2 separate regions of the Homo sapiens genome follow, and region 1 is linked to region 2. Evidence: promoter capture Hi-C in 16 types of primary human blood cells and fetal thymus (Javierre and others, 2016). All regions are on one chromosome and are shown on one strand. Each heading gives the region's core, a stretch centred on a gene start or on the middle of the fragment in contact. The rest is flanking DNA. Distances are from core to core; before and after follow the strand shown. Region 1 overlaps PARP2 (poly(ADP-ribose) polymerase 2). Region 2 holds the start of HNRNPC (heterogeneous nuclear ribonucleoprotein C).

Region 1 (6,999 bases), core at 3,198-5,697, 920 kb after region 2:
CAGTTTGATTTTTTATCACTCCTCTCTTGGTCCATAACAATAAACTTCTGGTGCCAGCCGCAGTGGCTCACGCTTGTAATCCCAGCACTTTGGGAGGCCAAGACGGGCGGATCATGATGTCAGGAGATCGAGACCATCCTGGCTAACATGGTGAAACCCCGTCTCTACTAAAAATACAAAAAAAAATTAGCCGGGCGTGGTGGCGGGCGCCTGTAGTCCCAGCTACTCCGGAGGCTGAGGCAGGAGAATGGCGTGAACCCAGAGGCGGAGCGTGCAGTGAGCCGAGATCGCGCCACTGCACTCCAGCCTGGGCGACAGAGCGAGACTCCGTATCAAAAAAAAACAAAAACAAAAAAACGAAAAAAACAATAAACGTCTGGAAATAGGGCCTAAGATTTTATAAGAAACTTAGTAGGCCGGGCGTGATGGCTCACGCCTGTAATCCCAGCACTTTGGGAAGCTGAGGCGGGTAGATCACCCAAGGTCACGAGTTCAAGACCAGACTGGCCAACATGATGAAACCCTGTCTCTACTAAAAATACAAAAAAAATTAGCTGGGCATAGTGGCGGGCACCTGTAATCCCAGCTACCTGAGAGGCTGAGGCAGAAGAATCGCTTGAACCCGGGAGCTGGAGGTTGCAGCGAGCTGAGACTGAGCCATTGCACTCCAACCTGGGCAACAAGAATCAAACTCCAGCTCAAAAAAAAAAAAAAGAACCTTAGTAAATAACAGAGCCAAGACTAGAAAGGCACATTCTATCCTCATTCTTACTGTCCCTTTGGGATTACAAAGATCAGTGAGAGCACCCCTGAGGTGAGAAGTAGAAAGGATTCAAGATATCCTGGCCTGTCCCAGTCCAGGAATGATCTAAGCTATTCTGCTTTACCCTGAGTAAGAAGAAACAGGAGTAGGTGTGGTGCCTCATGCTTGTAATCTCAGGACTTTGGGAGGCCAAGACAAGAGGACTGCTTGAGCCCAGGAATTCGAGACCAGCCTGGGCAACATAGTGAAACCTCATCTTTACAAAAAAAAAAGAAAAAAAATCAGCTGGGCAGAGTGGCACGTGCCTGTAGTTCCTGATACTGAGGAGGCTGAGGTGGGAGGATCACTTGAGCCTGAGGATCTTGAGGCTGCAGTGAGCCATGATTGTGCCACCCAGCCTGGGCAACAGAGCACAGTTTTGCCTCTAAAAAATAAAATAAAAAAAGAAGATGTGTTTCTTTCGAAAAGTATAGTGAGAGTTACCTGAGTATTGGTGGCATAGTCCATCTGTAGCATATCATATTTTCCAGGCACCTTCTCAAACTTTTCTCGATCTTCCCAATTGTTTTTCGTTTTGTCAAGGAATCTGTAGAGTCCAAGGTGTAAGAAAACTTTACAAATAAAGGTCTACTATGAAGATGGACTTACAAGACAGAAAATCTCCAAAGAATTTATTTTCCAGCACTGAGCTCCTTTACACATCAACTTTCCATAAATCAAAATTAGTCTAATTCTAAATGAGGACACTAAATGGACAAAAAAGCTCTGGAGACAAATGGAATTTAAAAAATGGGAAAAACAATGCTTGTCCTTCCCAAACACCACAAAAGCCATTGAGATTTCAAACAAAAGATATCCATCTAATCTCTTTCCCTGAAAGAAACATGTTCTCCAATTCTCCAGAAAGTTCTTCATCTATATCATAAAGTTTTAAAAATTCTAACTGAATATTCTCTTTTTTTCTTTCCTTTTTTTTGGGGGAGAGTCAGGGGTCTCGCTTTGTTGCCCAGGCTGGTCTCAAACTCCTAGCTTCAAGCAATCCTCCTGCCTCAACCTCCCAAAGTGCTGGGATTACAGGCATCACCGTGCTCAGCCCCTAGTTGAATATTATCTATCCCAGGATAGTCTCCACTTATCCCAAATTTCCTAAATTTGTCAGTCATGTGTTAAATATATTAGATTCTTCTGTTTTTAGTGACTTTCAAGGTATTAGTTTGATTTAATCACTAAGGATGCAGTTTGGTGTTTCAACCACAGAATGTCAGGGTGAAAAGACATTAACATTTAGGCCAAATCACACCTATAAAACGAAAAGTTTTTTATAAGCCACACACTTATAAAATTCTTAGAGAAGGCAGGGCACGGTGGCTCACGCCTGTAATCCCGCACTTTGGGAGGCTGAGGCAGGCGGATCACCTGAGGTCAGGGGTTCGAGACCAGCCTGGCCAACATGGCGAAACCCCATCTCTATTAAAAATACAAAAATTAGCTGGGCGTGGTGGTGGGCGCCTGTAATCCCAGCTACTAGGGAGGCTGAGGCAGGAGAATCACTTAAACCCAGGAGGTGGAGGTTGCAGTGAGCTCAGATCATGCCATTGCACTCCAGCCTGGGCAACAAGAGTGAAACTGTCTAAAAAAAAATTTTTTAGAGAATATACATCTAAGAAGAGGAGGGTATATTTTTTTGTAGTCACTTTTCAGCACTCACTTCTTCTGAAAGATTTCCTTGGCCTTGTTGAGATTGCCTGAACAAGCCACCAGGCTGTGCTGTCCCATTTTCCCAACTGCAAAGGAAATGCCACACATAAGATAGTTCCCTAAGAGTAACAGGCCAGCTCTCCAAGATCTCTCTGCTTAACATCTGACAAACAGGCAGGAAAGGGAGAAGGGAAAGGTGAAAGGATTTAGGGAACTAATCATGTTGATACAAGTTACTTGCTAACTGCCATAGTCTATGAGCACTACTAGCAGTTCAACTATAGAAGAGTTTTCAGACTCAATGGGCTGCTCTTAGTTTTTCCAGTGGGAACTCTAAGGAGGATGCCTGCCATTCCCCAATTTCAAGATGCTCAACTTGATTCCTAAGGCTCTCCCAGACTTCAGAGCCTCTACTGACCCAATTTAAACCCAGAGAATCCTTTGGCCACCCACTAAGCTGCTTCTGACTTTCTGAATGCCAACTCATAAAATCTCAATAAAAATCATTACCTCGGCCCCATCTCATCCAAACACTGAAGTTCCTCTGGGCATCATCTTCTAATAGCTGAATCAGATAGTACTTGTTGTTGTTGAACTGGAGATTGGTCTATGTTGAGTGAAAACAAAAACAAAAAAAAGGAGTTTTGCAAATGGAAATCACATAAACCAATGACTCATCCTTCGTCACAGGTGCCAGTTATTTCCATAAGGAAAAGGATAGCATCAGGCAAGAAAATTAGATTCCTGTAAGATTAAAGATATAAAGAAGAAATAGGGCTTATACATTAAACTTTGGATTCTTAGGAATTAAAGTGGGAGCCTAGAAGCTTCCTAAAACCCTCTATCCAACCTCAAATATCCTACATTGAATGGCTCCTCCAGTTTTTTCCTGCCTCAGCTCCCTATTTAGATATTTTCTAAGCTATATGTGTTTTCCAGCTCCCAATCCACTCCCAATAATTATTTCCCAAATGAAAACAATTTGGATGCTCCAAAGGTCTAAACCTGTTATGCTCAACTGTTAAATGACTTACTCCTTGACAGTTCTACTCACAGCTTTTGTTTGTCAGCTGCAGAAATTTGACAATGAGCTGAGAGCAGGGCAATAATGGGAGGGGACAAGGGATACGCAAAACCACTGCCACATCCGTCCCATACCTAACCTGACCTGACTTGGAGATACTGAGAGAGAATATGGCCAGTATCTAAAAAGAGGTATCTGTAAGTAAATCACTCAGAGTGAAGAGAGAGAAGTCCATGATAAGGCATAGCAGCTGGTGTTGTATGGCCGAGCCCTGGATATGGAGGCATTCTTTTTTGTTAAGCATGCTGCCCCTTCCTACCTCTATCTCCTGCTTGCTCACATTCTAAAGCCATTGTACGACCTTAGCCCACTGGTGAAAAAAAAAAGGTCATTAGATGTTAGAACAAAAAGGAGCCTAAGATATTTTCTTTTTTTGAGACAGAGTCTTGCTCTGTCGCCCAGGCTGGAGTGCAGTGGTGCAACCTCCGCTCATTGCCACCTCTGTGTCCTAGGTTCAAGCAATTTCTTGTGCCTCAGCCTCCCTAGTAGCTGGGATTACAGGCACACGCCACCATGCCAGACTAATTTTTTTTTGTATTTTTAGTAGACATGGAGTTTCAACATGTTGGCAAGGCTGGTCTTGAACCCCTAACTCAAGTGATCTGCCCGCCTTGGCCTCCCAAAGTGCTGGGATTTTAGGCATAAGCCACCATGCCCAGCTTGATATTTTCTTTTCCTTTAAAAAATTTTTTTGTAAATGTTTTTATGGTTTTTATTTTTTATTTTTTTGAGATAGGGTCTCCCTCTGTCACCCAGGCTGGAGTGCAATGGCTCAATCACAGCTCACTGTAGCCTCAACCTCCCAGGCTCAAGCAATCCTCCCACCTCAGCCTCCAAAGTAGCTGGCCCATGCCCGGTGTTTTTGTATTTTTTTGTAGAGACAAGGTTTCACCATGTTGCCCAGGCTGATCTTGAACTCACACCTGAAGTGATTCTCCAGCCTTGGCCTCCGAAAGTGCTAGGATGACAGGCATGAGCCACCACACCTGGCTGCCTTAAGGTATTTTCCTTCTTTTCTTTTTTTTTTTGAGAAGGAGTTTTGCTCTTGTTGCCCAGGGCTGGAGTACAATGGTACGATCTCGGCTCACCACAAACTCCGTCTCCCAGGTTCAAGCAATTCTCGTGCCTCAACCTCCCGAGTAGCTGGGATTACAGTCATATGCCACCACACCTGGCTAATTTTGTATTTTTAGTAGAGATGGGATTTCTCCACATTGGTCAGGCTGGTCTTGAACTCCCGACCTCAGGTGATCCGCCCGCCTCAGCCTCCCAAAGTGCTGGGATTACAGGCGTGAGCCACTGCACCTGGCTAACCTTAAGGTATTTTCTATCTGCTCGTGGTATTTTAAGTAGAAGAAATAGTAAGAAATAAATACTAATTGGTTGTTAAAATTATATATGTTGGATCAATAAATTCAAACATGAAGTCATATCCAGGAAATATATTAATGAGGCAAATGTATTATCTACTCAAAACCACAAAGGTAAACAAGAGAAAAAGGTTGATTAAAAAGAAAGCTGAGCTTGGGGGCAGATGCCTGTAGTCCCAGCTACTTGGGAGGCTGAGGTTGGAGGATCACACGAGGTCACAAGTTCAAGGCCAGCCTGAGCAACATAGCAAGACACTGTCTCTAAAATTAAAAAAAAAAAAACCCAAAATTTTTTAAAAAGGAAAAATTAATAAATTTAACTACAGAAAAAATTTAAAACTTCAATATGGGCAAAAAGTGTACTATAAGGAAAACCAAAAGGTAAATGACAAATCTGGAAAACACAAGTGGTTTGTATTACAGACAAAAGGCTATTCTCCATATTATATAAAGTTCCTCGAAACCAGTAAGAAAAGGACCAATAACTTTAGAAAATGTGCAAAACAGCTTGTCCCAGTGGCTCATCCCTGTAATCCCAGTGCCTCATGAGGACAAGGCAGGAGGATCATTTGAGGCCAAGAATTCAAGACCACCTATCCAACATAGCGAGATTCTCATCTCCATAAAAAATTTAAAAATTAGTCAGGCTTTGTGGCATGCGCCTGAAGTCCGAGCTACTCAGGAAGCTTAGGTGGGAGGATTGCTGGAGCCCAGAAGTTCAAGGTTGCAGTGGGCTATGACTGTACAAACTGCACTCCAGCCTGGGTGACAGAACAAGATCCTGTCTGTTTAAAAAAAAAAAAAAAATGTGCAAAAGGATATGAACAGAGAGTTAACAATTTCAATAAATGATATGAAATTTGCAAAAAAAAATCTTCTCACAGAGGACTCTGCTATCTGATAAGAGTGTGCTAGGGCTGAGTACTCAGGTGTTTAACCACTAATGGCTAATATTAATATAAAGGACTTGCCGGGCGCAGTGGCTCATGCCTGTAATACCAACACTTTGGGAGGGTGAGGTGGGTGGATCACCTGAGGTCAGGGGTTCAAGACCAGCCTGGCCAACATGGTGAAACCCCATCTCTACTAAAAATACCAAAAAATTAGCCAGACACTGCACCTGTAGTCCCAGCTACTTGGGAGGCTGAGGCTGGAGAATTGCTTGAACCCAGGAGGCAGAGATTGCAGTGAGCCGAGATTGCACCACTGCATTCCAGCCTGGGTGACAGAGCAAGACTCTGTCTCAAAAAAAAAAAAAAAAAAAAAAAAAAAAAAAAAAATATATATATATATATATATATATATATATATATATATATATACACACACACATATGAAGGACTTTAGGCAAGGCGTGGTGGCTTACACCTGGTAATCCCAGCATTTTGGGAGGCTGAGGTGGGTGGATCACTTGAAGTCACGAGTTCGAGACCAGACCCTGGCTAACGTGGCGAAACCTTGTCTCTACTAAAAATACAAAAAATTAGCTGGGAGTGGTGGTGCACGCCTGTAACCCCAGCTACTTGGGAGGCTGAGGCAGGAGAATTGCTTGAACCTGGGAGGCAGAGGTTACAGTAAGCCGAGATTGTGCCACTGTATTCCAGCCTGAGAGATGAAGTGAGACTCCATTTCAAAAAGAAAAAACAAAATTTAAAAAAAAAAAAAAAAGGGACTTTAAAGATCTGAACACTGTGATGCTATCATCAATAATTATCAAGAAGATGGTCTCATAAATATAATGGTGCCACCTCTTCTTGCCTCTTACCTGATTTAGCATGACATCATAGACATCATTTCCTTCACAATACACATGAGCCTAGAAAGGGAGAGAGAGAAAAAATCAACATTAGTATAGGTTCAGCCCTGACATCCTAAATGAGGCTCTAAATTTTCTTATGGCTCAAGTCATCATTCTACAGCAACATCAACATTCATCTCCCAAGGAAAGAATTGCAAACCTATGTTCTACCAGTAACCTGGGTGTAACCTTACTATAAATGAAAACATGCTTCCTTTTTTTTAACTATACAAAAGATTCTGAGTTAGGCTGCGCATGGTGGCTCATGCCTGCAATCCCAGCATTT
Region 2 (6,750 bases), core at 4,248-6,747:
TTACTTATTTTCAGTAGCACTCACAATTTAGTATAAACAATTAATTGAGTAATTATCCATTTAATATTTGATTCTGTTCTGAAGGGCAGGGCCATGTCTGTTTTGTTTACTTCTATGCTCTTGTGGCATCAGCTAATTACATAGTACGTTTAACAAGTATTGTTGAGTGAATGGGTAGGATTTTCCCACCTTGGCATACATTACATTATTAATAATAGTGTAATGGTTATTTGCATATCCTCTAGAACTAGACCTCCTAGCATTAGAATCTTTTTTTTTTCTCTTTTTGAGACACGGTCTTGCTGCTGGTAGCTAAATCCTGGTCTCCAGGGATCCTCCTGCCTCAGCCTCCTGAGTAGCTGGGATTACAGGCTTCCGAGTGTCTAGCTATAGTGTCAGAATCTTGCACCACCAAAAACTAGTTGTGTGACCTTAGGCAAATTACTTAACCTTTCTGTGCTTTCATTTCTACATCTTTAAAATGGGGATAATAAAATTATCAAATGAGCTAATTCATGTGAAACACTTAGAAAAGTGCTTTACACATGGTATCTGCTCAGTAAATTTTTATTTTTACTATTAATATTTAATATAAGGGTAGTCAATAATACTTAGAAGCAAATATTACTTGATTTCAAAACCACGAATGGATGTCATAATCCAGACTTTATCTTTCCTTCTTTTTTTTTTTTTTTTCCACTCTGTTGCCAGGCTGGAGTGCAGTGGTGCAATCTCGGCTCACTGCAACCTCCGCCTCCCAGGTTCAAGCGATTCTCGTGCCTCAGCCTCCCAAGTAGCTGGGATTACAGGCATGCGCCACCATATCCAGCTAATTTTTGTATTTTTAGTAGGGACGGGGTTTCACCATGTTGGCCAGGATGGTCTCCGTCTCCTGACCTCGTGATCTTCCTGCCTTGGCCTCCCAAAGTGTTGGGATTATGGGTGTGAGCCACCGCGCCCAGCTATCTCTCCCAGTTCTAAAGCTTTGTGGACAAGGATTTTTTTTTTTTTTTAATTTTCGAGACGGAGTCTTGCTCTGTCCCTTAGTCTAGAGTGCAGTGGCATGATCTTGGCTCACTGCAACCTCCACCTCCCAGGTTCAAATGAATCTCCTGCCTCAGCCTTCCGAATAGCTGGGATTACAAGTGCGCGTCACGTCTGGCTAATTTTTGTATTTTAAGAAAAGACAGGGTTTCATCATGTTGGCCAGGCTGGTCTCGAACTCCCCGACCTCAGGTGATCCGCCCAACTCGGCCTCCCAAAGTGCTGGGATTACAGGCATGGCCCGCCACACTTGGACTGTGATCAAAGATTTTTTTTGCCTGTTTGTTCATATTATTTATTTATTTTTTGGAGATGGAGTCTCAATCTGTCGCCCAGGCTGGAGTGCAATGGCGCAATCTCAGCTCACTGCAACTTCCACCCCACTGGGTTCAAGTGATTCTCCTGCCTCAGCCTCCCAAGTAGCTGGGGTTACAGGCGCCTGCCACCACGCCCAGCTAATTTTTTGTATTTTTAGCAGAGATAGGGTTTCACCATGTTGGCCAGGCTGGTCTCGAACTCCTGACCTCAGGTGATCCACCCACCTCGCCTCCCAGAGTGCTGGGACTATAGGCGTAAGCCACCGCTCCAGAGATTGCAATGAGCTGTGATCGTGCCACTTCACTCCAGCCTGGGGGAAAGAGTGAAACTCCATCCCCACCCCCACCCCCCAAAAATAAATAAATAAAATAATAAAATAATTGATATATGATACTGAAAAACTGGAAACAACTTCAATGTCTTGAAGAGGGGATTGGTTTTTAAAAATGATATTGGGGACGGGCTTGGTGGCTCAAGCCTGTAATCCCAGCACTTTGGAAGGCCGAGGTGGGTGGATCACCTAAGGTCAGGAGTTCAAGACCAGCCTGGCCAACATGGTAAAACCCCGTCTCTACTAAAAATACAAAAATTAGCCCGGCGTGGTCGTGGGCGACTGTAATCCCAGCTACTCGGGAGGCTGAGGCAGAAGAATCGCTTGAACGTGGGAGGCGGAGGTTGCAGTGAGCCAAGATCACGCCACTGCACGTCAGCCTGGGTGACAGAGCAAGATTCGGTCTCAGGAAAAAAAAAAAAAGATATTAACCGGGTGCGGTGGTTCAGGCCTGTAATCCCAGCACTTTGGGAGGTGTGTCGGGCAGACTGCTTGAGCACAGGAGTTCAAGACCATCCTGGCCAACGTGGCAAAACTACATCTTTACTAAAAATACAAAAATTAGCCAGGCATGGTGGCGGATGCCTGTAGTCCCAGCTACTCAGGAGGCTGAGGCATGAGAATCGTTTGAACCTGGGAGGCAGAGGCTGCAGTGAGCCGAGATCGCCCCGTTGCACTCCACCCTGGCCAACAAGAGCGAAATTCCATCTCAAAAAAAAAAAAAAAAGTATAAAGCAGTGTTAGCTAAAACGAGAGAGCTCTATAAAATTTTATTTTATTTTATTTTATTTTTGAGACAGTTTTGTTTACTTAAGTCAAGAGGCCAGACGTGGGTCAGCCTGTAATCCCAGCACTTTGGGAGGCCCAGGCCGGTGGATTGCTTGAGCACAGGAATTTGAGACCAGCCTGGGCAAGACGGTGAAACCCCATCTCCACAAAAATTAGAAAACTTAGTGAGTCTGGTGGCACACGCCTGTAGTCCCAGCTACTCAGGAGGCTGAGGTGGGAGGATCTCTTGAGCCCAGGAGATCGAGGTTGCAGTGAGCCTTGATGGTGCTACTGCACTCCAGACTGGGCGACAGAGTGAGATCCTGTCTCAAATAATAGTAATAATAATAACATAAATTACATGTCAACCAGACCCGACAGACTCCAGGCCTCTCTGAGTAAGTGCTACATAAAACATACAACAAACAAAAGACAGGGCCTGGCGCAGTGGCTCACGCCTGTAATCCCAGCACTTTGGGAGGCTGAGGCAGGAGGATCACGAGGTCAGGAGATCGAGACCATCCTGGCTAACACGGTGAAACCCCGTCTCTACTAAAAATACAAAAAAAATTTAGCCGGGCGCGGTGGCGGGCGCCTGTAGTCCCAGCTCCTCGGGAGGCTGAGTGAGGTAGGAGAATGACCTGAACCCGGCGAGGCGGAGCTTTCAGTGAGAGCCGAGATTGCGCCGCTCCATTCCAGCCTGGGCGACAGAACAATACTCTGTCTCAAAAAAAAAAGAAGAAAAGAAAGAAAAGACAGGGCTGGCATGGTGCCTCCCAGCATTTTGGGAGGCCAAGGAGGGAGGAATGCTTGAGCCCAGGAGTTCAAAACTAGCCTGGGCAACATGGTAAGACGCTGTCTCTACAAAATATAAAAATAAAATTAGCCAATGTGGTGGTGCACACCTGTGGTCTCAGCTACTCCAGAGGCTGAGGTGGGAGGATTGCTTGCGACTGGGTGGTTGAAGCTGTAATCATCCGGGATTATGCCAATGCACTACAGCCTGGGCAACAGAACAAGACCTCATCTCAAAAGAAAGAGAGAGAAAAAAAGGACAGTCTATCTGCTTGTCCTGGAAAAATAAAAATTTCCCCTGATAAATAAAAGTTAATGGTTAATATTTTATTAATTTATTAATAGGTAGTAAACAAGGAAAATATATTGAAGAGTAAGAATTAAACTCTGCCATCAAAAAATCTTACCATCCAGGAAGGGAGAGGAGTGTAAAACTACCCACAGTGCTACGAGATAATTTTAAATAAATTGCAATGTGGCAATTGAGTCGAGGCTTTAAGCACTCGTAGGATATTCTCCCTCTGATTACTTGCTCAAAGTAGATGATTTGGAAAATATAGAAAAGTACAATAAGATTTTAAGGCTGGGCGCGGTGGGTCACGCCTGTAATCCCAGCACTTAGGAAGGCTGAGGCGGGCGGATCACGAGGTCAAGAGATGGAGACCATCCTGGCCAACATGGTGAAACCCCGTCTCTACTAAAAATACAAAAATTAGCTGGGCGTGGTGGCACGCACCTGTAGTTCCAGCTACTCGGGAGGCTGAGGCAGGAGAATCGCTTGAACCTAGGAGGCGGAGGTTGCAGTGAGCCAAGATGGCGCCACTACACTCCAGGCTGGTGACAAAGCGAGACTCCGTTTGAAAAAAAAAAAGTTAAAAAAAAAAATCACATGTAATTTTCCCACCAGGAGAGAACCACTACTAACACTTTAGTGTATACTTTCTCCCATATTTTTCGTCTTTGCTTTTTAAAATAGTTTAAAGTGGTCTGGCGTGGTGGCTCACGCCTATAATCTTATCACTTTGGGAGGCAGAGGCGGGCGGATCACCTGAACAGTCTGGCCAACATGGCGAAACCCCATCTGTACTAAAAATACAAAAATTAGCTGGACATGGTGGCGCGCACCTGTAGTTCCAGCTACTCAGGAGGCTGAGGCAGGAAAATCGCTTGAACCCGGGAGGCGGAGGTTGCAGTGAGCCAAGATCGCGCCACTGCACTCCAGCCTGGGCGACAGTGACTCTGCCTCAAAAAAAAAAAAAAAAAAAAAAAAAAAAGAAAAGAAAAAAGAAACCGCTGGCTTAGTAGAGCTGATGCTACCCCACTGCGTGCGCAGTTCCTATAATGTAACCAGAGAGACTGGCAGGTGACGGGGGTAGGTAGGAGACAAGCCATTTCAAGAGGAGGGAAATTAAGGGACCAGATTTGGAAGGATGGGCCAATTTTGCTGGCACTTAAGATATTAGATGCCCTGGGGCCAGAGGCCAGGATTCTGCACTTCCTTTTTATATTGGAGAGGAATAAGGAAGTCAGTTGGTTTCGATGGAACATGTGTTGTCTGAAGAAGGGTTTAATAGGCCAAGAAGCAGATGTCTACGAGGTAGCTGACATTCGAATCTGGAACTGAGAAAGGGTCTGGGGTTGGAAAAACTGCAGGACTGGTTAGTTTTCTACACACTTTAACAAGGCCTAGTCACTGCTGCTCCCTCCTCATTTTAAGAAAAGTCCTTTCTTTATTCACATTGCACAACGGAGGCTTCATTTCGCGCTTTTTTTTCCCTAGGCCCGGGGCTGGGGCAGGTCTTTTGCGCCCGTCACCTAACTACGCCCCTCAACCCTTTCCCCGCCCCCGCGCAGCCGGAAATCCGAGGTCTGGGCGGATCTTCTACTAGGCACTCTAAGGGGCAGCGATAGGACGCCGCGGCCGCCAATCAGGCCTCCCAGATACCCGGATGTGAGACGGTGCGCGATACAAAGGCGAGTTTCCACCCAGAGGGTCGTCCCGTGCAATAGCCAATAAGCATTCTCCAGGCAATAAATGACAGGAAAACTAACCAGTTATAAACTAGTTTCTCTCACGCATGTGGAAATTCGCCTGCTTAGTCTAACCCACTGCTAATTGTGATTGGATATCATTGTGAGGAGCGGTTGAACTGTCTAATTAGGAGCGGGAGCGAAAAAACGCACAGCCAATAGGAAGATTCTCAGGAATGGGGCGGGGACTAGGCCTTCGCCTCGGCGGCAGAGGAGACTCGGGGGCCATTTTGTGAAGAGACGAAGACTGAGCGGTTGTGGCCGCGTTGCCGACCTCCAGCAGCAGTCGGCTTCTCTACGCAGAACCCGGGAGTAGGAGACTCAGAATCGAATCTCTTCTCCCTCCCCTTCTTGGTAAGTGGAGAGGGCGGACGCAGGGAAGGCGCTGGGTTTTTCGGGAAGCGAGAGGGGGTGTGGGAGAGAAGATGTGGGAATCCTTCCCCCTAACTAACCGGGCCCTCATTTATTCTGCTTGTTTTGGGGGATTAGGTTGAAGCCGGGGGCAGTTTTATAGGCCTCAGCCTCTGTATAGGTTTAACCTGGTGTCCTCTAGGCCACGATCGCCAGGGAAAATGTCCTTTTTTCGCTCTTCCTGTGTTAACGGCTGCTTTCCTTTCATTTTCTACGACCGCGAGGACTACGGGATCATGAAAATGAAGATCGTGATGCTCATTAATATAGTCGAAGTTAACGTAGCGCCGATGCCTTCTATTACCTCCGTTCTTCTTACATGTAAAAAGTGGGGGAGGGGAAGGGGGAAGGTTACCAAGTAGATGTATCGCGAGCCTTTAAATCCTGGATCGTGCCGCGTGGCCTACGAGAAAGGTTTAACAAAAGATTCAGCATTTTACTGATAACTTTTTATTTTATTTCTCTCTATGAGCAAATGATGGAGCTCGAAGTAGTTATTTTCACTTACATTTGTAAAAGGAAATATTGTGATATAACTATATTAATATTTACAGCTGACTTTTCATCTGCAGGTTACAAAACACTTGAAATATATAAGTTAGTGGAACTTTGCTTGAGGTAGGTATTAACTCTCTTTCTCAGACGGAAACTGAGGCAGAAAAGTGTTGGTTGCTAGGGTCATATTAAGTCAGTAGCAGCACTAGTAAGGAATTTGACCACGAGGTCAGTCGAGTGGTTTTTACCTAGTTAATGGAATACCTAGTTAATATAGTTCTAAAACTACTGTATTGCAATCTTTGCCAAGAACCTGATGACGGAAACCACGAGGTAACTGGAAATTCCCAAATTGCGCTTAAGAAAAATACTACGAGACTTGAGAATTTTTTAACGTAACTTCCTAAGTGTAAGATGACAAAATTTGACTTTCGGGATATTCTGGCGTTAATTTTCCCGTCCGCCTAAATGTGGGCAAAAATTCACAGCTACGTTATATTAAGCAAATATTAACAGTGCCTATTATTTGCTGGGTGCTGAAATTTGATAAAAAACTT

What was found. Contacts are between HindIII fragments. The CHiCAGO score rates a contact against its expected background, and 5 or more counts as called.
Region 1: a fragment that was not itself captured here is called in contact with the fragment with the promoter of HNRNPC in region 2 in 1 of 17 cell types (monocytes); the score reaches 9.2 in monocytes.

Annotation. Positions count from the first base shown.
Region 1 is chr14:20,346,595-20,353,593 of GRCh38, reverse strand. It overlaps PARP2 (poly(ADP-ribose) polymerase 2), which reads right to left. Exons shown (of 16, transcript NM_001042618.2): 4 at 6,681-6,731; 5 at 2,972-3,068; 6 at 2,472-2,547; 7 at 1,247-1,349. Among named protein-coding and RNA genes, the nearest start is that of PARP2, 6.5 kb to the right of the region's middle. The HindIII fragment of the contact is 2,313 bases long and covers 3,291-5,603 here.
Region 2 is chr14:21,268,189-21,274,938 of GRCh38, reverse strand. HNRNPC (heterogeneous nuclear ribonucleoprotein C) reads left to right here and starts at 5,497. Exons shown (of 9, transcript NM_004500.4): 1 at 5,497-5,641. RefSeq lists enhancers at 4,768-5,393, 5,497-5,756, 5,394-6,018 and a silencer at 5,327-5,406. The HindIII fragment of the contact is 8,584 bases long and covers 986-6,750 here.